2 separate regions of the Homo sapiens genome follow, and region 2 is linked to region 1. Evidence: promoter capture Hi-C in 16 types of primary human blood cells and fetal thymus (Javierre and others, 2016). All regions are on one chromosome and are shown on one strand. The core of a region is centred on a gene start or on the middle of the fragment in contact, and the rest is flanking DNA. Distances in the headings are between cores, read along the strand shown.

The links. Contacts are between HindIII fragments. The CHiCAGO score rates a contact against its expected background, and 5 or more counts as called.
Region 2: a contact is called between a fragment that was not itself captured here and the fragment with the promoter of ATP6V1B1-AS1 in region 1, in 1 of 17 cell types (M2 macrophages). The highest score is 5.6, in M2 macrophages.

What each region holds. Positions count from the first base shown.
Region 1 is chr2:70,945,427-70,951,397 of GRCh38, forward strand. It overlaps ATP6V1B1-AS1 (ATP6V1B1 antisense RNA 1), which reads right to left and starts at 3,185. Exons shown (of 2, transcript NR_110274.1): 1 at 2,801-3,185. The region is part of intron 2 of ATP6V1B1 (ATPase H+ transporting V1 subunit B1); the gene reads left to right. The HindIII fragment of the contact is 10,354 bases long and covers 1-5,971 here.
Region 2 is chr2:70,669,072-70,674,635 of GRCh38, forward strand. ADD2 (adducin 2) reads right to left here. Exons shown (of 16, transcript NM_001617.4): 15 at 3,807-3,935. It overlaps LOC105374794 (a long non-coding RNA gene), which reads left to right and starts at 4,184. Exons shown (of 3, transcript XR_940230.3): 1 at 4,184-4,308. The HindIII fragment of the contact is 7,132 bases long and covers 1-5,564 here.

The DNA.
Region 1 (5,971 bases), core at 1,935-4,434:
TAGACTCTGAGATAGGTTCTAGGCAAAGAACCCTTCTCACAATTAGTTGGACAAGAGGATAGAGTATGTAGAAAGGAATGACAAAGAATGGGGGATTGTGTCTGTGCATTTTATAATAGACACACAATAATTGTACATATTCCTGAGGTACACAGTGATGTTTTGATACATATAATGCATAGTGATCAGGTCAGGGCAATTAGCATATCCATCATCTCCAGCATCCTTTCTTTGTGTTGGGAATATTAGTATCCTCTTTCTGGCTATTTGAAGAGATATATATATATATATATATATATATATATATATATATATAGTTGTTAACTACAGTCATCCTATTGTGGTATAGAACACTAGAACTTATTGCTCCTGGCTAGCTGTAATTTTGTGCACAGATTTTTCCCTCTGCCTCCTAGACTACACTTCCCCCTATTCCCTCCCTCTGACTCATCCCCAGGGTTGAGAGGTCACCTTCTCCTGGATGCCTCTCCCTCTTCTCTACTTTTTGTGGTTTTATTAGTGGCATCCACTGAGGTATTTGGTCAAGATCTGGCCATGTATCTCCTCCCTACCCTTCCCCACACACACCGTGCCCTGCTATTGGCCATGAACTGTGTTTTGTTCATCTTCAGCTCCAGAAGCCCAACACAGCATTTTTACTGAACACATAGGCTATAGTAGGTGCTCAGCATGTTTGCTCAAAGGAAAGGTGAGTACATTAATGAGATAAATGAATGAATAAATGTTAGCATGACTAGCTATGCACCTGTCAAAACCTGAGCCAACAATATTAAATAAATCAGACCCATTCTTTGCTAACAAACAGATTCTGAGTTCATACGGACATTACCACTTGACCCCCCAGTGTAAGGGACGCCCCAGGAGGAAGTGTGGCTGAGTAGTTAAGTGCAGCACACTGGGTTTGGATTTTAATCCCAGATCCATCCCACTCTTTTCTGCTAGCTACATGCCAACCCTAGATCAACAGCATTAGCACTGCCCAGGAACGTGTTAGAAATACAAATTCTTGGGCTCCACCTCAGACTGACAGAATCAGAAGCTCTGGGGGTAGGGCCCAGAAGTCTGTCCTCACAAGCCTTCCAGGTGAACTGATGCTCAAGTTAGAGAACCATCAATCTCGGATTGTAAATCCCAGTTTCCTCATCTATTAAATAATAATAGGATTATTGTGAGGTTCACATCAGACAAATGTAGTATTATTCTCCCTTGAGAATAGCCAGCAATGTTTCTGCCTGGAATGCAGAAATGCTAATAAGCCTGATTCAACAGTTGGTGCCACCTCCTGCCCCCTCTCCACCTCCACCACACTCTCCACCAGACCTGCCATTCTCCATGGGACCCAGTGTGGCATGGAGTCGGAACCTATACAGGTGTCCATTTTCTCCACTGTAAAATGAGGCCGATCTAGGAAACCAGAACTAGGTCCCCAGACCTGTGGTTTTGCGACTATCGGATGCATCTGTAGCTTTGGCAGAGAAAAATAATTGGGTGGTGGAGGCACCTCTCCCCATCCCTCTCCGTTGCCCCTACCCCTTTCCCTCTACCAGGATTTGGCAAATGCTACAATTCTGTTTCTACAGCGCCACCTTCTGCCCACATTGAATCACACAGGCAATTACTCTTCCTGCTTCCGTCCTCAAATGTAAGAACATTTGAGGGAAGAATTTTGTGTAGATCAGAGGTTCTTAGCCCAAGGAATTAGGCCCTTGAAATTGTGTGCAGACCTTTGAAGGTATGCATGAATGTGCCTGTGCATTTTTCTGGTAGGAGTTTCTACAGTTTCGTCTGATTTTTCAGGGTTCGTGACCCAGAAAAGTCTAACTCTCTGATTTGTATAAGTTGAACAAGCATCAGAATATCAGGGGTGCAGGGGGCTTGTTAACAGGCAGATTGCTAGGCCCCACCCCAGAGCTCTGATTCAGCATGCCTGGGGTAGGAGGCCCAAGAATGTACATTTCTATCAAGTTCCTAGGTGATGCTGCTGGTATGGGGACCACACGGAGAACCTCTGTTCTAGAGAATCTTCTGACTCCTGTAGTCTGTGATTCAAATTGGTCCCTGTTTGAGAATTGGAGTAAGCACTCACCTTAACCACCAGACTCCATCCCCAATGTCTGTGGCTGCTTTCAAAAGAGTCTGCATCAGCTCTGAAGACAATTTCCAAAGAGGAGCCTCCGCACTGCCCTGGCCATTGTCAGCAGGAGGGACCTTAGAGGCAGCATTCCTGTGCACAAATCCCGACAGGCTTGCTAAGAACTTCCAGTCCTCCGTGTGTAGACAGCAGCTCCCCTGTGCCTGGCCACTTGCTGGTTGAGAGCTCAGTTGAATCTCCAGCACGGGGTTACATTGCACTGAGTCATGCCCTCTTCCTGCAGCCCTCTTAGTAACCGACATCAACCGAGTTGATGGGATCAGGCCTGCTCAGTATGCGGCTGGGAAATAGGGCCCCTTAAGATACAAGCTCCTGGACTAGCTATCCCCCACGGGAATTCTCCCAGGTACCCACTGCCATAACTGGTCATGAGATCCCACCACCAACAACAATAACGACGAACATCCAGCACACACTTAGAGCCTGGGGCTCTTCCTAAAGGTTCCAGACACTACACCCTCCATGCCTGAGTGTGAAAACCTGATGGCCCTTCCCCAGATCTGACCACAATTTCTGCCATTTAAAGTTCATTTTCTCTGATTTTGTCCTTCAGGGACACAGAACGCACCACTCTCCTCTCCACTCTCCTCTCCTGCCACCCTCCCTCTCTCACCCACATAAACTCACATGAAAATGATCACTTTTTTTTTTTCTTTTTGAGACGGAGTCTTGCTCTGTCGCCAGGCTGAAGTGCAATGGCACGATCTCTGCTCACTGCATCCTTCTTCTCCCGGGTTCAAGCGATTTTCCTGCCTCAGCCTCCCGAGTAGCTAGGACTACAGAAAATGATCACTTTTAAATCACTCCACCGCCTGATTTCTTTGGGGCACACTCTGGCCTGTGTTCTGTACAGCAACTTTTCCCCTGAGGTTGAAACAGCCCTCCGTCACCTCCAGGGAGATGACAAATAATGAGGCAGGGCCCGTTTCGTATCGAAACACAGGTTATCAGAGTGGGAGAGGAAAACGAGCCGGGACGTGTGTTCCACGCGTTTCCCAGGCCCTCGCTGTCCGTGCTCCTGGGCTCCCTCTTGTGGTTGAGAACCCAAGACGCCTGGGTGTTCGGAGCTCCTCCCACCTCGGAGCCCTCCTCCCCGGCCGGCCTAGTGCTGAAGCCCCCACTCCGCAAGGCTGAGGGGTGGTTTGGGGAACCACAGGTCACCTTCCTGGCATCCTCTTCACAGGACAAGGGAGGACTCAAGGTAGCGCTCCCTTCCGTGTGATTGTCAGGGCTGCAAACCTAGTCTCAAGTTCGACCAGCAGGGGTTCCCTGGCGGAGTGGTCCCTACTTGGTCACACCTTGCTGGGGAATTGGACCCTCCGCCCCAACCCGCAAGCCCTTAAGGTCACTAGTTTGTGGCCAGTAGGTGATATAACGATAGTAATGATGATGATAATCACCAGCACTGTGCTGTAACATGTCCTAAAAATGTATTATATTTTAATTGCAAAAATAATACATGCTCCTTGTAACTTAGTGAAAAAGAGGAAAGACACGTAAAGTTAACTATCTGCCCCTAACCGCTTTATTCTCAGCCCCGAAAGACCCTGCTGAATACGCTCAAACACAGGCAAATATGTTAGAGGTTGACCTCGGGGTCAGTCCCTTGAGAGCCAAGGGACTGACAGTGGATCCACTGACAGTGTCAGCGGATACACATTTTACGCATTCTTTTGGATACTGGCATAGCAGGCGATAGTATGGATGTACTGTAACTTACTCAATAGTCCCATTATTGACAGACATTCGTATGTTCTCAGGTTTTGCCATTACAAATAGTACAATATTGTATCCCTTTTAAACGGACGCTTTTGTGGTTATAGGATAGATTCCCAGAAGTGGAATTGCTGGTTCAAGTACTTTTTTATTTCAAATTAGATATTGACAATTTGGGGCAAGATGGCTTGCCCAGAAGGGTTGTGGTAATTCACATTTCCACCAACCAGGTATGAGAGGACCCACTTCCCCACATCCTTGCTGGCCCTGAATATGTTCTCTCTGTAGTTTTACCTATCTAATAAATGAAAACTAGTACTGTCTCGCTTTTATTTACATTTCTCTGATAACTAGGAAAGTTGAGTGTCTGTCCATATGTTTACCATTTTGATTTTGCTTCCTTCTCCGTGAAATCTTCCTACCAAGCAAGTTGTGCATACGGGAGCTCCTTGTTTATTGCTCACAGGCTATCTTTTGCAACAATAAATGAAACAAAGATTTCATCTATTGTGTCTCTGCCATACAGAAGTTTGAAATACTCATATGATCAAATATTTTTTGTTTATACCTTCTGAATTTCTTGTCTTGCTTAAAGACATTGCTCATCTGTCTTTTAATTGGATTATTCAGAAAGATAGGAAAGAAGAAAAGCTCTTCCAGTATTTTTTAAAAATTGTTTTTACTTTATATTTAAATTTTTTTTACATGCCTGGAATGTATTTGGGTTTATGATGTGGTTATCTTCTAACTAGATATCCTCTTATGTTCTATATATTATTTCCCCTCTGAGAATTAATTAATATACAACATTTGTTCTATAATAGTCCTATAAAATCTGGGATCTCCTTCTGGACTTTTTTTCTTTCCTACTGATCCATTTGTCTACCTCATATCAATTTACTGCTTGACTTCAGTAGCTTTATAACAAGTTTTAATATCTGAAAAGGCAAGTCCTCTATCTCTGATCTTTTTCATAACTACTTTGGCTATTCTCAGACATTTATGTGAACTTTAAAATAATTTTATTAAATTTTAAAATAAACAATAATCCATTAGGGTTGGATCAAATTTATATACTTTTCAAAAGGATTAATGTTTTTATGCTAGTAACTAAGAACATTAAGACAATAATGTTCTTCATTGTTTAGGACTTGTTTTATGTTATTCCATAATTTTTTTTTGTACCTTTCTTGTTATATTTATTTCTAGCTATTTTATGAGTTTTGGCCCTATTGCAGATGGGATGGTTTTCTCCGTTGCCTCTTCTAACTGGTTACTACTAAAATAGAAAAAAAAGGAGGGGGGGAATGATTTTTAAATATTTATCTTATAAACAGCCAAATTATCTTATTCATTCTAAAACCTTCTTTCTAAACCAGAACCTCTTGAGTCTTTCTAAATGTATAATATAATCTGCAAATAAAGGGAATTATGTCTCTTTTTCCGTCAGTATACTTTTACTTTACTTTTTATTTTGAAACAATTTCAATTTTATAAAAATTTGCAAAGATAAAAATAGTAGTAGGAACATCCATGTCACCAACGGTTAATATATTATCTCATTTGCTCTATCATTTGCTCTCCATGTGTGACTGTGTGTGCATAATTTTTTCCTGATTTTTTTTTTTTTTTTTTTTTTTTTTTGAGACGGAGTTTCACTCTTGTTGCCCAGGCTGGAGTGCAGTGGCAAAATCTTGGCTCACTGCAACCTCCAGCTCCCCGGTTCAAGCGATTCTTCTGCCTCAGCCTCCCGAGAAGCTGAGATTACAGGCGCCCTCTACCACGCCTGGCTAATTTTTGTATTTTTAGTAGAGACAGGGTTTCACCATTTTGACCAGGCTGGTCTCGAACTTCTGACCTCAGGTGATCTGCCCGCCTCGGCCTCCCAAAGTGCAGGGATTACAGGCATGATCCACTGCGCCCGGCCTTCCTGAATCTTTTGAGGGTACGCTAAGCTCAAGTACTTCAGTGTATATTTCCTAAGAATTAAGATATTCTTTTATATAACTACAGTAGAGCTATCAACTTCTGAAATTTATACTGATACAATACTTTAATCTACCATCCACATTCCAATTTATC
Region 2 (5,564 bases), core at 1,330-3,829, 280 kb before region 1:
AAGGGCTGGGCACTCATGCAGCAACAGTCAAGAAGGCCCACGGGTGCTCAAAGAACAGAGCAGAGGGGAAGAAGAGCAACAAGCTGAGCTGCCCATGGCCGACCATTGAGCTGGATGCTGGCCACGCAGAGAGGTTTGCAACAGAGTTTCTGTCTGGGTTTAAATTCTCAAACATCCGTGTCTGAAAGAATCACCCAGAGAGCTTGTGAAAATGCATCTTCTTTAGTGTTGTCCTCACAATAAACTGAAACAGAAGGTGGACCAAGAAATAGAGATTTTTAACAAGTCCCCAGGTAATTCTGATACAAAAGGCCCATTAGCCACACATTGAGAAACATAAGTTTAGAATGCTATGCTTTATCCGACGTTTACTTACCCCCAAAAACTGAGAGTACCACTGATAAAAAAGAAAGTAGAGCTTCTCATAAATGGATGCAGTGGACTCTGTGACTCCCATCCACTCACCACAGCTAGGATACAAATGTTCCTCTAAGTACCCAAATATACTTTCAGTATCTGGTAGAGCTTGTGTGCAAATATGACCCCAATGAGCTATCCCTCCGGGTATCCACACTGAATCTGGGCTGGCCCTGTGGCTGGCAAAACCAATAGAATGCAGTGGAAGATCCACAAAGCAGGCCTCAGGCCAAAGACTTAAGAAGGCCTAGCAACTTCTATTTTCACAGTTTTGGGAGCCTTATACCACCATGTATAAAGTCCAACAACCCTGATGGAAAAACATGTAGAGAGGCCGCATGGGTGGGCCCTGAGACCACATAGAGGGAGAGAGAGACAGACAGAGAGACAGACAGACAGACAGACACCCAGCCATCTCAGTGTCCCAGCTGAGCCCAGCCTTCTAGCTGCCCCTGCTAAGGTACCAGGCATGTAAGTGCACCATCTTGGAAGTTCCAGCTTAGTCAAGCTCCCTACTGACTGGAGCCCTCCGCAGATATCACATCAATTAGAAATCATCCAGCTAAGCCCCAACAACCCCAGTCAACCCACAAAAGAACTAATTTCCGTAATACTAGTTCTTATTCTATACCATGACTTAAATCAAATATTATTGCTGCATCACAAACCACCCTAAAACTTAGTGGCTTAAAACATCAAGTACTGTATTAGCTCTCACAATTTGGAGAACATGGTAGATAAAAAGGACTAACTTATGTAAAGCATATTACAAAGTACTTTTATATTCAGTAGCTCATTTTATCCTGACAACATGCTGTGGGTTAGGAAAGGCAGATTCATGTTATTCCCATCCAGCAGTGTTTTTAAATGACTTGTTTGAGATGGCTAGATTAGTTAGTGGCAGAGCTGATCATGTGATCATGTGATGTCAAATACAGGGCTATTTCTTTGCAGGCGTAGCCAGTTGCCCTGAGGGTTCAGCAGAGGATAAGGTGAGCTGGGACAAGGGTCTGACAGGAGCTAAAGAGAAGGTGATAGCACAGATGACCAGATGCAAAGGCTCTCTCTGATGGCCAGCCTTCAGAGAGGCTGATGGGGTAGGAGTCAGGTAGACAGATGAGGAGTGACACTGAGGCGACTCAGCATAAGAGAATTGAGGACATGGTGGCAAATGGTTGGAAAAAGCCATCCCTGATCTGATGGGTGGGCTAGATGTGAAAGAGCAGAGACTTGCATGGTGGGTCAGTTCTGTCTGCCCAGGAGTCCAGCAAGCCTGTGAGCAGCCTGGCCAAGGCTTCACACCGGGCTCCCCACCCAACTACAGCTTGTGTCCTCGTCATGCAGGGTCTGCTCCAAGGTGCCATGCTCCCTAGCTCTGTCTGTTATAGGAAGTGGGTTATGGGAAGTATCTTCAAGACAACTCTTCTAACAACTCAACCGTGGGCCCCTCCAGGGGAAGAATGAAGAATCCTGCTATAGGGTGTAAAATGTCAGGCAGTGGGTAAACAGCTACCCCACCCATTGCATGCCCTTCCTGGCCCTTGTCCCACTCCTCCATGAGCCTCCTCTCCAGCCCTGGATTTCCTTCCTGCAGCTGGAACACATGTCCTGAAGACCCTAGCAGACCAGGCCCTCTATGCATCCTTATAAGGCAGTTCAGGCTCTAGCCCAAAACCTAGATGAGGCCACAGGTTCCTTCAAGGTGCCTGTGCATTAGGAAGAGGGGTAGGAGTGAGCGCCTGAGAGCCGTAAGCACTCTACCACCGGGAGTGCCCGAGAGTTGGCCCTACTGCCTGCAAACTCTTGGGAGCTTGTTGCTTCTGGGCGTGTGTGCCTGTGTGTTTGTGTATGTGTGTGGCCTATGTGTGTATATCCACATCTCATGTAGAGAAGCCTAATCCATGCATAGTGCATGTGGAATTGGCCATGAATTTTACAGCCAGGAAACTTCCCAAAGGCAGAGTTGTGAGTCGCAAAAGAAAAATGTGGGGAGAAATCTATTTCTTTTGAAAAAAAAAATCCTCCCTCCCCCATTGCAAGGGTTGCAGTGAGTTAGTAAACAGCCTCTCTATACTTACTACAGAGACAAGTATTCAGAATCGGAGGAAACTCCTTTGATGAAGGCACAAATGGGAAGAGAAAGGAAGACATTGTGGAGACAGGTTGACAACACCACAGTGAGACACAATGAACACAACAGTCGGGGTACATCCACTTGGGGCTCTGGCCTCAAGCAGACGGGTTTCTTCTGGCAACACTGGGCCTGCACAGGAGGCAATAGTTTGCTTGTGGAGGGAGCTCAGGGTTGGGGGATTCTATCAGAATCCACACGTGTGGCCGTTCTACTCCAGAGGGAGAAGATTCCAATAGGCCACCAGATTTCTGCTCTCTGGGTAGCAGGACAGCTCTGTCTGGTGGGGGTCTCCGGGGACCTGGGATGGAGTGTGCATGCCCTGGAGTGATTCCAGGAGCTCAGTAAAGATACTTTTATGATTTAGGTGGCCAGGAACTATAATTCTTATCCACTTTATGTATACTATTAACCATAACCGTAATTGCATCTTAAATTATTTAAGTCCTGCTTTTACTCTTTCAAAGTATGTTTTCACCTACACTTCCCTTATACATATATAAAAAGGGACTATATGAGTAGCCCCATCTGACAGTCAACAAAACTGAGGCTCAGAGATGCTGATTTGCTAAAATTAGCTGTTATTACTAGTTAGCAGTTCAGTTGGGCCTCGAACTCCGTTCTTTAAGCTAGTAGCTCTCTATTGAAGCTGTTTTCAACCTGGAACACACTTTAGATTCCCCTGGAGAGACGTGAAAACTCCAGGCTGTACTCCTAAACCCACCTGACTCCAGACTTTTCTGAGTTTTCCTTAACTCAGAAAAGCTGGGGATGGGATCCAAGAATCAAGACGGTTAAAGCTCCGCAAGTGATTCCAATGTGCGGTTAAGGTTGAGTATGACATCATTACCCTCACCTGGGAAATTCAGCATCTTAGGCCACATCCCAGACTTACTAAGTAGAATCTTCAGTTTCACAAGATCCCCAGGTGGTACCTATACACGTTAAGGTCTGAGAAAGGGGCTAGTGCATCTGGAAAGGCCTAACAGCCCCGGCCATGTCTGAGTTGGGGCAAGGAGCCGGGGGCCAGCCAGTAACTTATTCTTCATTGCTTATACTGGGTTTAAGCTGCAAGGTGTAGTGTTATAGCTTGTGAGTGAAACAACATGAAACTTGATAACCCCTATTTCTGATTTCCTAGAAATAGCAGAGGGGAAAGATTTTCAGATTAGGGGCAACACGAGTGGAAGGCAGGGCACCTTCCCAGCCTGCAGATGCACCCCTCTCCCTCCCTCCCAGCCTACTCAGCTGGACTCACCCTCTAAAGACTTGGAAGGAGAGACTAAAGGGCTCTTTGTCTCTGCCTCCTTCGCTGGGCTCTGCACTGGAGAAGCAGGTGCAGACTTTGCAGGTGAGCCAGGCTCTTCTGGGGCAGTTTCTTTCTCTCCTGAAAAAACAGAAAAACACCTCAGGATAGAGGTCAAATAGAGAAGAGATGGGCAGGGAAATAAAGCCTTTTAAAAATTACTTTTTTCTATTTGGTCATCAATCCTCCTGGCTGATAATGAGACTTCTAGCTGAAGTTAGCTCCTCCCCCTGACCTTCTTAGATTTCTGCTACTTCCCTGGGAAGGCCAATGGGAGAGGGTGGAGTCATGTTTCCTTCATCAAAACACACCTACCAATATGTTACTCCAGATGTGGAGGGCAACGCTGAAGAACTCGCACACGGCCGGACCAGAGCCTGGCTCTCGTTCCTGTCCTGTCTCTGAAGAGAACCAGCCAGGAGCTTTGTGTCGTGAGCACAGAGCACATCAACGGGTAAGAGGTGGACCCACAACCACCAACTCCCCTTATTTTATTTTTTGCTGACTCCCCTTAAAAACACCCATGATTTCTTTGCATGTAACTATTGTTTAATTCATCAAATTTACATTTTCTGTCCAAACAATCCCTAGGGATAAAAAGTGCCATGTTCCTCTATTTGCTTTTCAATTGGCACATTAGAGCTCCAAGCAAGCCAGCAAGGGTTTTTTGGTTTTTGCTGTTGTTGTTTGAGATGAAGTCTCCCTCTGTCACCCAGGCTGGAGTGCAGTGGTGTGACCTCAGCTCACTGTAACCTCCGCCTTCTGGGTTCAAGCAATTCTCCTGCCACAGCCTCCTGAGTATCTGAGATTTTTGGCGTGTACCACCATGCCTGGCTAATTTTTGTATTTTTAGTAGAGACGGGGTTTCACCATGTTGGCCAGACTGGTCTCGAACTGCTGACCTCAGGTGATCCACCAGCCTTGGCCTCCCAACGTGCTGGGATTACAGGCCATTCCTGGCCAGCAAGGGTTTTTTAAGTGTCTGCTTTGTGTCCAGGAAGGTGGCTGACTTGGGGTGAGGAATGGAGATGGTGGAAGAAGACCCTGCCTTGAGGGAGTGTCAGTCTAGCCCAGTGGACACAACCAAAAGCTGAATTATGTGTCTCAGACCCCAAGTGGTCAGGAAGCAAAGAGAAGGGACAGCTCAATTTGGGTGGAGTAGAGAGGGTGACAGGGAGGCCCTTCCTAGCTGGAGAGGGGTTTGAGAGGAAGCCGGGACTGATCAGGCTAGCCAAGAAGGGGAACCATGCCAGGAAGAGACAAAGGTAGGAACAAGGGCATACAAGCTACTGTGAGTGAATATTTGGGAGTCAACACAGAGAGATGGGCTTCACTCAAGAATCTGAAATAAAGGAGCGAGAAAAAGACACAAAGGTGTCAGCTGGTGGAGGGTTTTGATTGCCAGGCTAAAAGGCTTATAGTAGACCTGGTGGGAAATAATAATGATGACTATGATCATTATTATAGCTAAAATTGATCTGGTGTTTACTGGCCTAAGCCATATTTGTAGGCACTTCTCTAAGCACATTACAAGTATTAACTCCTTTATGCCCGGTAAGAGGGTCAAGTGAGGTCATGAAGGCACCGAGTAACTGTCAGGAACAGAGCAATGAAGGGCATTTTTGTGATTAATGGAACTACAGTAGAAATATTCTTTGATGATGGGGCAGGAAGGTCCTCTCTTGGTAGTCCTGAGCTCTCCCCTCCACC